Regions from separate parts of the Homo sapiens genome. Here region 1 is linked to region 2. Evidence: promoter capture Hi-C in human tissues and cell types (Jung and others, 2019). All regions are on one chromosome and are shown on one strand. Each heading gives the region's core, a stretch centred on a gene start or on the middle of the fragment in contact. The rest is flanking DNA. Distances are from core to core; before and after follow the strand shown. Region 1 has its middle 36 kb from the start of PLA2G4E. Region 2 holds the start of ITPKA (inositol-trisphosphate 3-kinase A).

Evidence for each region. Contacts are between HindIII fragments. The study calls those that stand out against the background at their distance.
Region 1: a fragment that was not itself captured here is called in contact with the fragment with the promoter of ITPKA in region 2 in 2 of the 25 tissues and cell types used here (dorsolateral prefrontal cortex and hippocampus).

The regions. Positions count from the first base shown.
Region 1 is chr15:42,054,065-42,059,509 of GRCh38, reverse strand. No RefSeq gene overlaps it. Among named protein-coding and RNA genes, the nearest start is that of PLA2G4E, 36 kb to the right of the region's middle. The HindIII fragment of the contact is 6,025 bases long and covers 475-5,445 here.
Region 2 is chr15:41,492,547-41,497,776 of GRCh38, reverse strand. It overlaps ITPKA (inositol-trisphosphate 3-kinase A), which reads right to left and starts at 3,903. Exons shown (of 7, transcript NM_002220.3): 1 at 3,361-3,903. The coding sequence starts at 3,849. RefSeq lists silencers at 3,284-3,333, 3,444-3,623, 3,644-4,263 and enhancers at 4,000-4,500, 4,501-5,001. The HindIII fragment of the contact is 23,030 bases long and covers 1-5,230 here.

The DNA of each region.
Region 1 (5,445 bases), core at 2,238-4,737, 560 kb before region 2:
TGGCACTTGGGACTTTCCTCTTCACGGCCAGGGTGTCTATCAACAGTAAAATGGGCAAATAATGTTTGGAGTATTCATGCAATGGAATATTATGCAGCCGTGAAAACAAACACTCTGTATTACACACAGTATGGATGGGTTTCATAAACATAATGTTGAATGTAAGAAGCAAGGCATGGAAGAATAAAATATTGAACAGTTGCATTGGTATAAAGTGCCAAAACTGATCAAACTAATTACAGTAGCAGAAATCAGGATAGCATTTACCTTTGGAAGACAGGTGTGCCATGATTGGAAGGAAGCCAAGGAAGGTTTCTAGGATGCTGGTGACGTTCTGTTTCTCCATCAGGATGCTTGTTACATGGGTGTATTCAAAAGGGAAACTTAATGAAGCTGCACATTTTTTTTCTTTATGCAGTATACTTTCTATTTTATTTTTTAAAAGTGAGGCTAAAAAATGAGATTCTTGGCCGAGTGTGCTGGCTCATGCCTGTAATTCCAGCGCTGTGGGAGGCCAAAGCAGGTGGATCACTTGAACTGAGGAGTTTGAGGCTGCAGTGAACTATGACTGCATCACTGCACTCCAACCTGGGCAACAGAGTGAGACCTTGTCTCTAAAAAATATATATATATAAATAAATAAATAGAAATGAGATCCTTAAAGAAAATAATAAATGCTGATAACATCATCAGTGTTATCTCTGAAAGGTGAACTTAAAGGTATCTTACATTCTGCTATTTCTATACATATTTATTTTCTTTTTTAAAACAAATTTTAGATTCTGGGGGTACATGTACAGGTTTGGGGTTACATGGGTATATCGCATGGTACTGAGGTTTGGGCCCTACCCAAGTAGCGAACATAGTACCCAATAGGCAGTTTGTCCACCCTTCTCCCACTCTCTCCCTCCCCGCTTTTGGAATTCCCGGTGTTTATTTTTCCCATCTTTGTGTCTGCCACTTACAAGTAAGAACACGTAGTATTTAGTTTTCTGTTTCTGTGTTAATTCAATTAAGGTAACAGCCTCCAGCCTTATCCATGGTACTGCAAAGGACACGATTTTGTTCTTTTTTATGGCTGTGTAGTATTCCATGGTGTATATGCACCACATTTTCTTTAATCTACTTTTGATGGGTGCCTGGGTTGATTCTATGTCCTTGCTCTTGTGAATAAACACTGCACACTCATAATTCATGCAGTTTTCTGTGTATATGTCTAGTTTTAAGAGTTTACTAAAGAGAAAAAATCTGAGGGTGTCATCATCTGCATAGTGGAGCACAGCAACCTGTGATTTGTGCCTGCCAAGTAAGTGTTCCTGTCACTCTTCTCTGTTGACAACTCCTGTCCAGCAGCCCTAGGAGAGAGGGTGTGACCAGGACTGGCCTATCTCAGTGTGTCATCTCCTTGCCACTGGGGATTGCCTCGGGGGGCAGACACCTAACTTGAGCAAGCCCATCTGAGCCCTTCCCTATTAGAAAGATTCCTGTTGAAAAAATTTCTCCCTTGATGTTGGGGTGGCTGAGCCTGGGCTGCCAGGGGCTGTATCCCCACCACTGGAGGAGGGCTGTCTACAGAAAGAGAGAGTGAGGCCAGTGGGTGAAGGGGGACAGAGGAGACAAGGGCAGGACAAACAGCCCTGGCCGCTGCCAATCCCAGGTTCTGTTCTTCTCCAACTTCCCAGAATCTTCCTTGTGTCAAACCTGTGAGTTAGTTCGGCCTCTTGCCCAGCTAGGTGAGGCAGTAAATTGCTTTTTATGCCTCAGCTTGTTCAGTTTGGCTCCTACCTATGACTAAGAGAGTCTTGACTAATCCATTACGCAACTGGGTGGATGGCAGGGCCACTTACTGAAGCAGGTACGGCCAGCGGAGGTGGAGAAAGTGTAAGCTGTGCGAGCCACATCATCCGGGAAGGGGCGGTCGCTCCTCGACGTCAGGAGGATGTCACAACCCTGACGCGGGTGTTTTACATCATCTTTGTCTAGGCTGGGGTGATGACTAGCCCCCAAGGTCACGATACACACTCACTCCCTACTCTGGAGTTCACCTTGAGATTACATTCTTTCTCATTAGTGATCGAATTGACTTCTAAGTCTTGAAGCCTTCAGCCTTTGAGCTCAGACACATTCCTTTCCCTCCTGGACTTCTGCCATCAGCGATAACCAGGAAAGTCCCAGGGATGCTGATTAACATCCCGAGGAAAGGAAATGGGACAACCTCCCGTCTCCAAGACTTTCTGCGGACCCCTCACTGCTTTTTCTCAGGGCCACACGGTGTCAGTGCTGAGACACCGACAAGCCTATGGCGTCGGTGGTGCCCGGCTCCTGTCACGCAGCACTGGTGAGGACACACAGACTCCATGTCGCGCTGGACGATCCGGGTAGCCTGGCCACGCGCCCCCCAGCGTCTGCTGCCTGGCTTGCCCTTTCTCGCCCGGTCTCTGGGAATGAAACCGGGAGGGCTTTGCAGAGCACAACCCGCAGGCTCTGTGCCGGGGCAGGTGGCTTTGCTCACCCACCATCCTCAGGCACATCCCCCAAGGCCGGCCCTGCCAGGGTGGCAGCTCAAAGAGTTTCTGCACCGCATTAGCAGCTGCGCCAGGCCCCCCGCTACTTTTCTCTTCTTTCTGCATTCTGCCCCTGGAGTGGTGGAAATTCTAACTTGGGCCAAGCTCTATCCCCATTTCCGACTCTGTGACGAGGAACTCTTAAGACGGGTAGGGGAGGACAGAAAGGTGCTGAGTCCATCACCCTAATAGCGGATTCTGGAAGGAAAGTTAGGAAAATCCCTCCCCTCACCTTCATGGGATACAAAACAGTCAATATATCTTATTTTTGTAAAAACGATCATTGTTATAACGAGATCATTTTAGACGTTGCGAATATATCTATGATATTCCTATGAATCAGTCCTGGCATTCGCCTAGGTTACTGAAGCAACACTTTCTGTACTGGGCAATTGGGCAGAAAAGACACTAACATTAATTGTGCCCTACTATTTGGCAGGCGTTAGTTCTCGCACTTCTATAAAGTCGGTATCATTATTATCCCTGTTTTACCAAGGAAGAAACTAAGGCTCAGAAAGACTGGATAACTTGCCAATAATACTCTTAAGAGCTGTGGGAGCCCCACCCTCCCACAGCACCCCAGCACCTCCTGGGTGGGTGGGCACCATCCGTTTTTGAATCAGGAACCACTGGAGAGGCACTGAGCCTAGCCTCTCATGTCTTCCTGATGTCACCCAGTATGTCTTCCATGGACCTGGAAGGAGATACACCTGGATCCAGGGCTGAAGGTAATCAGCTCCTTTTGATAAAGCCCCATCTCCCTTTTGTAGAGCAAAATTAAATAGACTTTTGCTCCCTGAAACATAAGTGCAAGTGCCTTGGGCAGATCCTGCTTGTACCTAAGGGTGGTAGCAGCAGCTGCTGTCCCTGGGGTCTTGCCAGGCACGGTCTCTACTCCATGTCCTTTACAACCTGAACCAGTTCATTGAAGAGCCTCAGCTCACTCCGGGGGCAAACATGAAACAATTTTATTTTTTCTACTAACTGTCCCCAGCTATACTCTGTTAAATCCTCCTTTCTTGAATAGAGTCCTCCTAATGATATGAGACCATAACCATTATGATGGTCTCATACATTATCATGTGTAAACAACCTACATTAATTGCTATGTGTATTTTTTTGTATTTGTTAATTTTTTTTTCTTATTCAATTCCTAAAATGGAAGATCTACAGGTGGGTAGAACGCTCACTAAGTAAGTCCTCAGCTTCCAAAACCTAGAGGCACACTATTACCCTACACATTTAGTTAAATGTGCCCAGAGCCAATCTGGACATTTTAATTTAGGCCCCAGTGGGATGGTTCTTCCCATGTGGCTTCAGATCTCTGGTGTGTCCAACAGCCCCTTTCCCTATGTGATCTCCCCACTCTTCTTCCCGTGAAGGGCCTCTCTTATTGGAGAAAATCTTTCCTTATTAAAGATCCTGCCCCTGGAAACTAAGGATGTTTTTTGTTTGTTTTTTTTCTATCTGTAGGCTTTCCCACATTTTAAACAACTATTTTAATGTAACAAAGCTTCCTGACATTTTAACCATACCATGGAAAATGCCTTTTCTTTATGTTTTCTTTTTGCAATAAAAAATAAAAACAAATAATCAGTCCTTTATCCAATGCAATGAACATTACTTTTGTGAATAACCAATGCAAAATGAAACCAACCAAAATTTCACATGATAAACTTTTAGAGAACCACATCTTAAGAATAAAAAAATTGTCCTGGCAAAAATTAGACTTGTAAAGAGATAGCGGCCACAAAGAAAAGGTAAAACCCATCATAAAGGGTATGATTTCATGGTGTGTGGAAAAGACTTGGTCCCAACGAAGATAAGCAGCAAAACTGGAAATTGCTAAGTATTATTCTATTAAAAATAATCAAGAAGATCAAGAAATTAAATTGGCTTAATTGAATTTGCTCCAGAAAATACATTTTTCTCTTTTTCTTTTCTTTAAACTTATGTATACAGCCCACTTTTACCCACCAGATTCTATTCTACTCCCTATTCTACATCTTAGGTATTTTTCATAAAACGTTTTCTAGATAAGACTTTATTAAATTAGGATACTTCTCATAAAAGCATTTAAGCTTAACAGAATGAAGTTAAAATTTCCCCAGGGATGTAAAAAAGGGAGAAGCTCAAACATATACACATCAAAGCCACACATCAGAGCCCAACATTCCAGTCCTCACTGTAGCCTTCTCAGCTTGTTCTGTTTTTCACCATTAAAAGCTGTCGTTACTGGTCAGGTGCGGTGGCTCACGCCTGTGATCCCAACACTTTGGGAGGTGCAGGCAGGCGGATCACTTGAGGTCAGGAGTTCGAGACCAGCTTGGCCAACATGGCAAAACCCCATCTCTACTAAAAATATAAAAATGTGCCTGTAATCCCAGCTACTCGGGATCCTGAGGTAGGAGAATCTCTGGCACCTGGAGGTTGCAGTGAGTTGAGATCATGCCACTGTACTCCAGCCTGGGTGACACAGTGAGACTATGTCTCCAAAAAAAAAAGAAAAAAGCTGTCATTACTTCTGCAAATCTTTCCAGGCCTTGCCTTGCTTTTCTTTCTTTCCTCTGTCTCCTCCTTCCCTCCCTCCTTTTCTCCTTTCCATTTTCCCTTAACTAAATGTGTAGGGTAATAGTGTGCCTCTAGGTTTTGGAAGCTGAGGACTTACTTAGTGAGCGTTCTATCCACCTGTAGATCTTCCATTTTAGGAATTGAATAAGAAAAAAAAACTAACAAATACAAAAAATACACATAGTCCTGTGGAGCCTATTCTAGGAGTGGCCAACTGTGGGGCCACCCAGGGCCTGGCTGGGCAGGGAAGTGGGGAATTTGGCAGGACCAGTGGCCAGGTGCCCTTGAGGGATTCCGGGCACATGGTGCT
Region 2 (5,230 bases), core at 2,654-5,153:
AAGTGCTGGGATTACAAGTGTGAGCCACTGCTCCCAGCCTACAAAAGATTTTCATACCTATTATCTCATCTGAGTCCTCCGTCCTACCACCTGAGGTTGCTATGACAGGATTTAGCCCCCCTGCCAGTAATGGGTATGGCCAAGCATGGCAGGAGTTGTGCAAGTGTCATGGAACTCAAATCACTGCCACCTTCCACCTTAGGGAGATACCTCCCCCAGAGAACATCACGCTTTTAAAAATGAATGTAAGCCCAGGCGCGGTGGCTGACACCTGTAATCTCAGCACTTTGGGAGGCCAAGGCAGATGCATCACTTGAGGTCAGGAGTTCGAGAGCAGCCTGGCCAACATGGTGAAACCCCATCTCTATTAAAAATACAAAACTTAGCCGGTGTGGTGGTAGGTGCCTGTAATCCCAGCTACTCGGGAGGCTGAGGCAGGAGAATCGCTTGAACCCGGGAGAAGCTTGAACATCCTCTGGCTCGGGCCTCCCTCCATGAAGGTGCCCTCTCTGGGAGACTAACACACAGCCAGAGGCTACCTGGGTATCTTGAGGCAAAGGCTAGGATTGCTGACTGTGTGAGAGACTTTAATGAAGTCACAGGAGGGCCCTCTGATAATTCCTCACTCCTAGGGCTGAACAGGGAGTACCTCTCTCTGGGCAGGGCTTGGCTGGATACTAGCCTCAGACCCTCCTTTGTCTAAGCTCCATTCGGAAGCCTTGAAGACACCTGCTCATGCCAGATACACAGTGTATCTTCTGCTGGAGCAGACCAGCAGGTGGGTGAGTGCTCTGTCTTTGGCACTCACCCTTGCTCCCTGCCTCCAGTCATCCAGGCTCTGGTTGAAGCTCTCTACCAGCCCAATACCCTCCCCATGTTCCAATTGCCCTATCAAACTAGCACTCCCTGTGGTCGTGGTGGTGGGAAGAGCAATCAGTTTAAATTTATAAAACGATTTGCACTAAGGTATAAGTGACCCACGACTTCACCTTCCCATGGGCATTAGCTGTTTAAAAAGGAAGTCTGTTAACCTAAATTCTGCTCTATAATTAGTGGAAAGCGATGTGTGGGAATTCTGAGTCCAGGAGGGGATGGCATCCAGGTCTCCTTACCTATCCTGGAGCACAGAAAGAAGAAAACCAGATGAACAGGAGCCAAACACCCTCTCTTTTCCTCCAGCAATACCCCACAATTGTTTGAGGAGGCAGGCAAGGCCATAGAGTCATGCAGCTGACCTTGCGGGTGGGCCTCCAACTTCTCCCCTGGCTGGTTAGGAAAAGCCTGCCTGTGACTTTTTCCTCTGCCGGAGTGAGGCTGCCCAGTTTCAATTTCCCTGCTCTGGGCAGGCTGGAGAGGGCTCCTAGGAGGTGAAGGGGACTACGTATGCCCCAGGCAGAGAGGTAGGCAGGCAGGCAGGCAGAAACTTCCTGGGCTCCGGCCTGCCTGGGCCGCGCGTAAGGGGCTGGTAAGCCGGGAGTCCTAGAGTCCGGCCCACGTGCATCCTTCACGGTCAGCCGGACCAGCCTTGCTTCCTGCCTGGGGAAGCCCTAAATTGGCCTGGGCCGGCGCGCTGTGCGGCTCTGGGACCTGCGGCGAGGCAAAGTCCGCCCTGGGCCCTTCCACACGGACTCAGGCAGCCTCTGTCAACAGCCCCTGGCTTATCTGCCGCCGCTGTGGCTGTTTGACTTCGGGGAGGCCCCGGCGGGCCTGGGGGTGGGGAAGGCCTGGAAGCCGCAGCCTTGGAGCTGGAAGGGCCCTCAGCGGCGATTTGCACCGGCTCCCGACGGCTCGGAGGGCGGCGGGGTCGCCCAGGTCCCCGAGGCTTGACCTTAGCCGGGGCGGTCTCTACACCCAGGCTTGGGCCGCAGGACCTCCTCCTAGCGCACTCCCTCTCCCAGGCACTTCGCCGAGTCCCTGCGGGCGGAAGAGGGAAGCGGGACGCGCCCGCGCTTCGCGCCCTTTCGCCTGCACCGGCTCTCAGGTGTCAGAGCTTCCGCGCCCCGGGAGCTGCTGCTCAGGCTTTTCCGAAGAGGCGGGGCGGGGGGCCTCTCACTGCCCCACACTCCACATCCTGGGAAGCCCCGGCATCCGCCCCCCGACCTAGGCAAGGGTTACCCCAGAAACGATCCTGGGTCCGGGGCTGCTCTGACCACCGGGGAAGAAGGGGAAGCGGCAGGCTAGTGACCGAGCCGGCGCACCCAGCACCTGGCGGCGGGGGGTGTTCCTGCTCTGTGAGGCTTTTCCCCTCTGGTGTCACTGACAAACCCCATCGGCCTCCGGGCTTGTGAACCCCTGCAGGTCGCCACAGCTTCCCTGCCTTGTCCCAGCCGATTGTGCGGCGGAGCAGGCGCGCGGCCACAGCTCTCCCCGCCCCGCCGCGCCGACCCGGACTTATGGGCAGGCCCCAGACGCCCGAGGCCGGGGGCGCCCCTCGCCTCTTCCTCGGCCTCAGGGACACTTGCGAAACGTGGATCTAAAGAAAGTCCTTCGCGCTGACCACGGACAGTTATTCAAGGTATTTGGCCTTGGTTAAAACGAGGGGAACAAGGAGGGTGTCCCGGGAGCCGCACATCCCTAAGTGGCGGGCGTCAGGAATGACTTAACAGTGCCCAGGGCTGTGTTTTCCGAGGGTCAGACCTGGTCCCAGAACACCCAGGCTATCAGAGGCAGAGACTAGCAGAGTGATCCTGCCCCCTTGCAGCCTCAGTTTACCGCCCCTCTCTGCCGCGCTCAGGAGCGGCGAGCCGGGAAGATGGGAGGCAGGGCGCGCACTGGGTGGGCTGCGTTCCGCTCCCAGCCAGAGCTCCCAGGCCCACGCCCCTCCCTCCCCTGCGTCCACGCCTCGTGCGGGCGCTGGGAGCAGACGGCAGCGGCTCCCGAGCAGAGCCTGGAGCGCCGCTCCACTCCCACTCAGGAGAGGGAAACCGTGGCAACGGCGGGGGTGCGGCCGCGGCACCGGAGAGGGGGCGGGGGGTAAGGGAAACTCTCCTTCGCCTCTCTCCTTCCGAGGGTTCACCCGGCAAGGCTCAGCCCCTCCGATCCCTCCTGTCCTAACCCACAGCCAACAAGGTCCGCTACCCCCGCTTCGCCCAGTCCCCGCGGCGGGTCGCCTGCTCCTCGCCCCGCTTCTTAGACGCCCCAGGGCCAGCGCCACGACCCGCCGGCGGAGCCGAGGTGAAAGTTGCCCAGGCGAGAGGTCGGCCAGGCGCCTCCCTCTGACCCCCAGATTCCTCCTAAACCGCGAGAACAGGACCTTCCGCTGGAGGGAGCATGGACAGGAGCGGGTCCTCCGGGAGCACCCAGCCAGGTCCCCCGTGCAGCCCCCGCGCCCGGCGCTGGCCCCGCCCCCGCGGCCCGTACCTGACCCACGTCCTCGCCCGCTTCCAGCTGCACGTTGCCGCGGCTCCGGCTCTCACTGTCGCTCAGCAGGTCGTCCTCCGAGTCCTCGAGCAGCGACGAGGAGCCAGTGGAGGAGACCGACGAGGTGGAAAGGCGGCGCGGCTGCTGCAGGTGCGAAGAGCCCGCTGCCGGGAGGCAGTCCCTCTCCCGCTCCGGCGGCCCAGGGCTGGTCGGGGGCACGTCGGGCTCCTCGGCTGTCACGGTCAGCTGAGGGATCACCGGGGCCGGGGGAGCCCGCGGAAGCCCGTTGGGGACCTGTCCCCCACGCCGCTTGGCCCCGCGGGCCCGGGGCTCCCCCGCGGCGGCGGCCGCAGCGACCGCCGCACAGCGCGCCTCGAAGAGCAGGCGCAGCTCCCCGACACTCCGGCGCGGGGCCCGCTCCAGCCCCGGGCTGCAGGGCCTCGCGCCCCCCGGCCGCGCCATGCCCGTTGGGCCCCCGGGCAGGGTCATTTCCCAGTGCCGGCGCCGCCGCTGAGCCCACCAGCCCGCGGCGCGCCGGGGACTGGAGCGGCTCGGCGCCCCCGGCTGGAGACGGCCCCGGGGCGGAGCCTGCGCCGCTGCACGCCCGCGCCCCGCCTCGGCCGCGCCCCCCGCCCACTCCTTCCACTTTCAGAGAAAGCGCGGGCCTCCCAGGGCCCCTGCGAGGGAGAGAAGGCTCTCGGTGACTCCTCGGGGTGGCGGGGAAGTCCAGCCTCCGTAGGCACAAAACCTGGGCCCGGGCCCCGAGGCTTCGCTCCGCCTGCCCTCGGGGAGGTGGGAGGGGCCGCTCCGCGCTGGGGCCTCGCAGCCTTCCCGGGCTTCGCGGCTGGGAGAGATTCCTCCAGGCCGCTCCACAGGCCCTGTCCCCGCGCAGGAGAAGCTGGTCCTACTCTTGGTCCCCTACCCCGTTCCTCGGGTTCCTTTGCGTGTTCATCCCTCCCGGGCAAGGGCTTCAAGTCTCGGGGCCTTTCTCCGGCCCGAGCTCCTGAGCAGAGTTGAAGGCCCCCGGCTTCCCGAAGAAGCCCCACCCCAGGGCGTGCACCCAAGTGGAGACTCTGCCCCAGGGACTAGCTGAGGCTGCTCCCCGCAAGTTCCCCACTTCCCGGCGGGCAGAGAACAAGGTCAGGGGGCGGGGCCTGGATCTGTCCCCATGGCCCAGCCTAGTCCCGGGCTGCATCTCCCCCGCTGCTGGGTGGCAGGAGCTGAGCCCGCCTTCCTCCTCCTCTGTTATAGGAGCTCGGGGCTTGGAGTCCGCCGTGTGGCGTTCAGCAAGTCATTTCACCTCCCTCGACTGCGGATTCTCCCGTTGCTGCGAGAATAAAATAAAAGACTTGAAATCAGGTACACCACACTCTAGATGTGATTTGTAGGCAGTCCCTTTACTCCCTCCGTATATTTCTGCATTTGTACATTTAGAAAAACCTCATCCAACCCACAGAGTTGTGTCTGTAAAACTAGGAAGACAGCACTGATGTTTAAGAGTTTCAGACACTGCAAAGTGCTTATCAGTGTCATTCCATGTGGATCTTCGGCCACTTCCCATGTTGGTAGTCAGCTGACCGACCGGCGAGGCTGCTTTGAGGAGAAGCCACTGTTTCCTATCTTACCATAGTGCCACAGGAGTGAGGGTCCCCCCTCAGGCACTCAGTGTCTGGGGATGGCTGGGGCCCTGGAGACAGAGCAGCCCCAGAAGGATTGCCTTGGATGCTGAGATGGCCGCAGGAGGGGCTTTCCTTCCCTTCTCTCCCCTCAGCCAGGGCTCAGGAATGGCCCAGGAGAAGGAAAGAAGAAGGTTCAGTGGGAAGACGGGAATCTTCGGCAAAGCATAGTGGCTCAGGCTTGTAACCCCAGC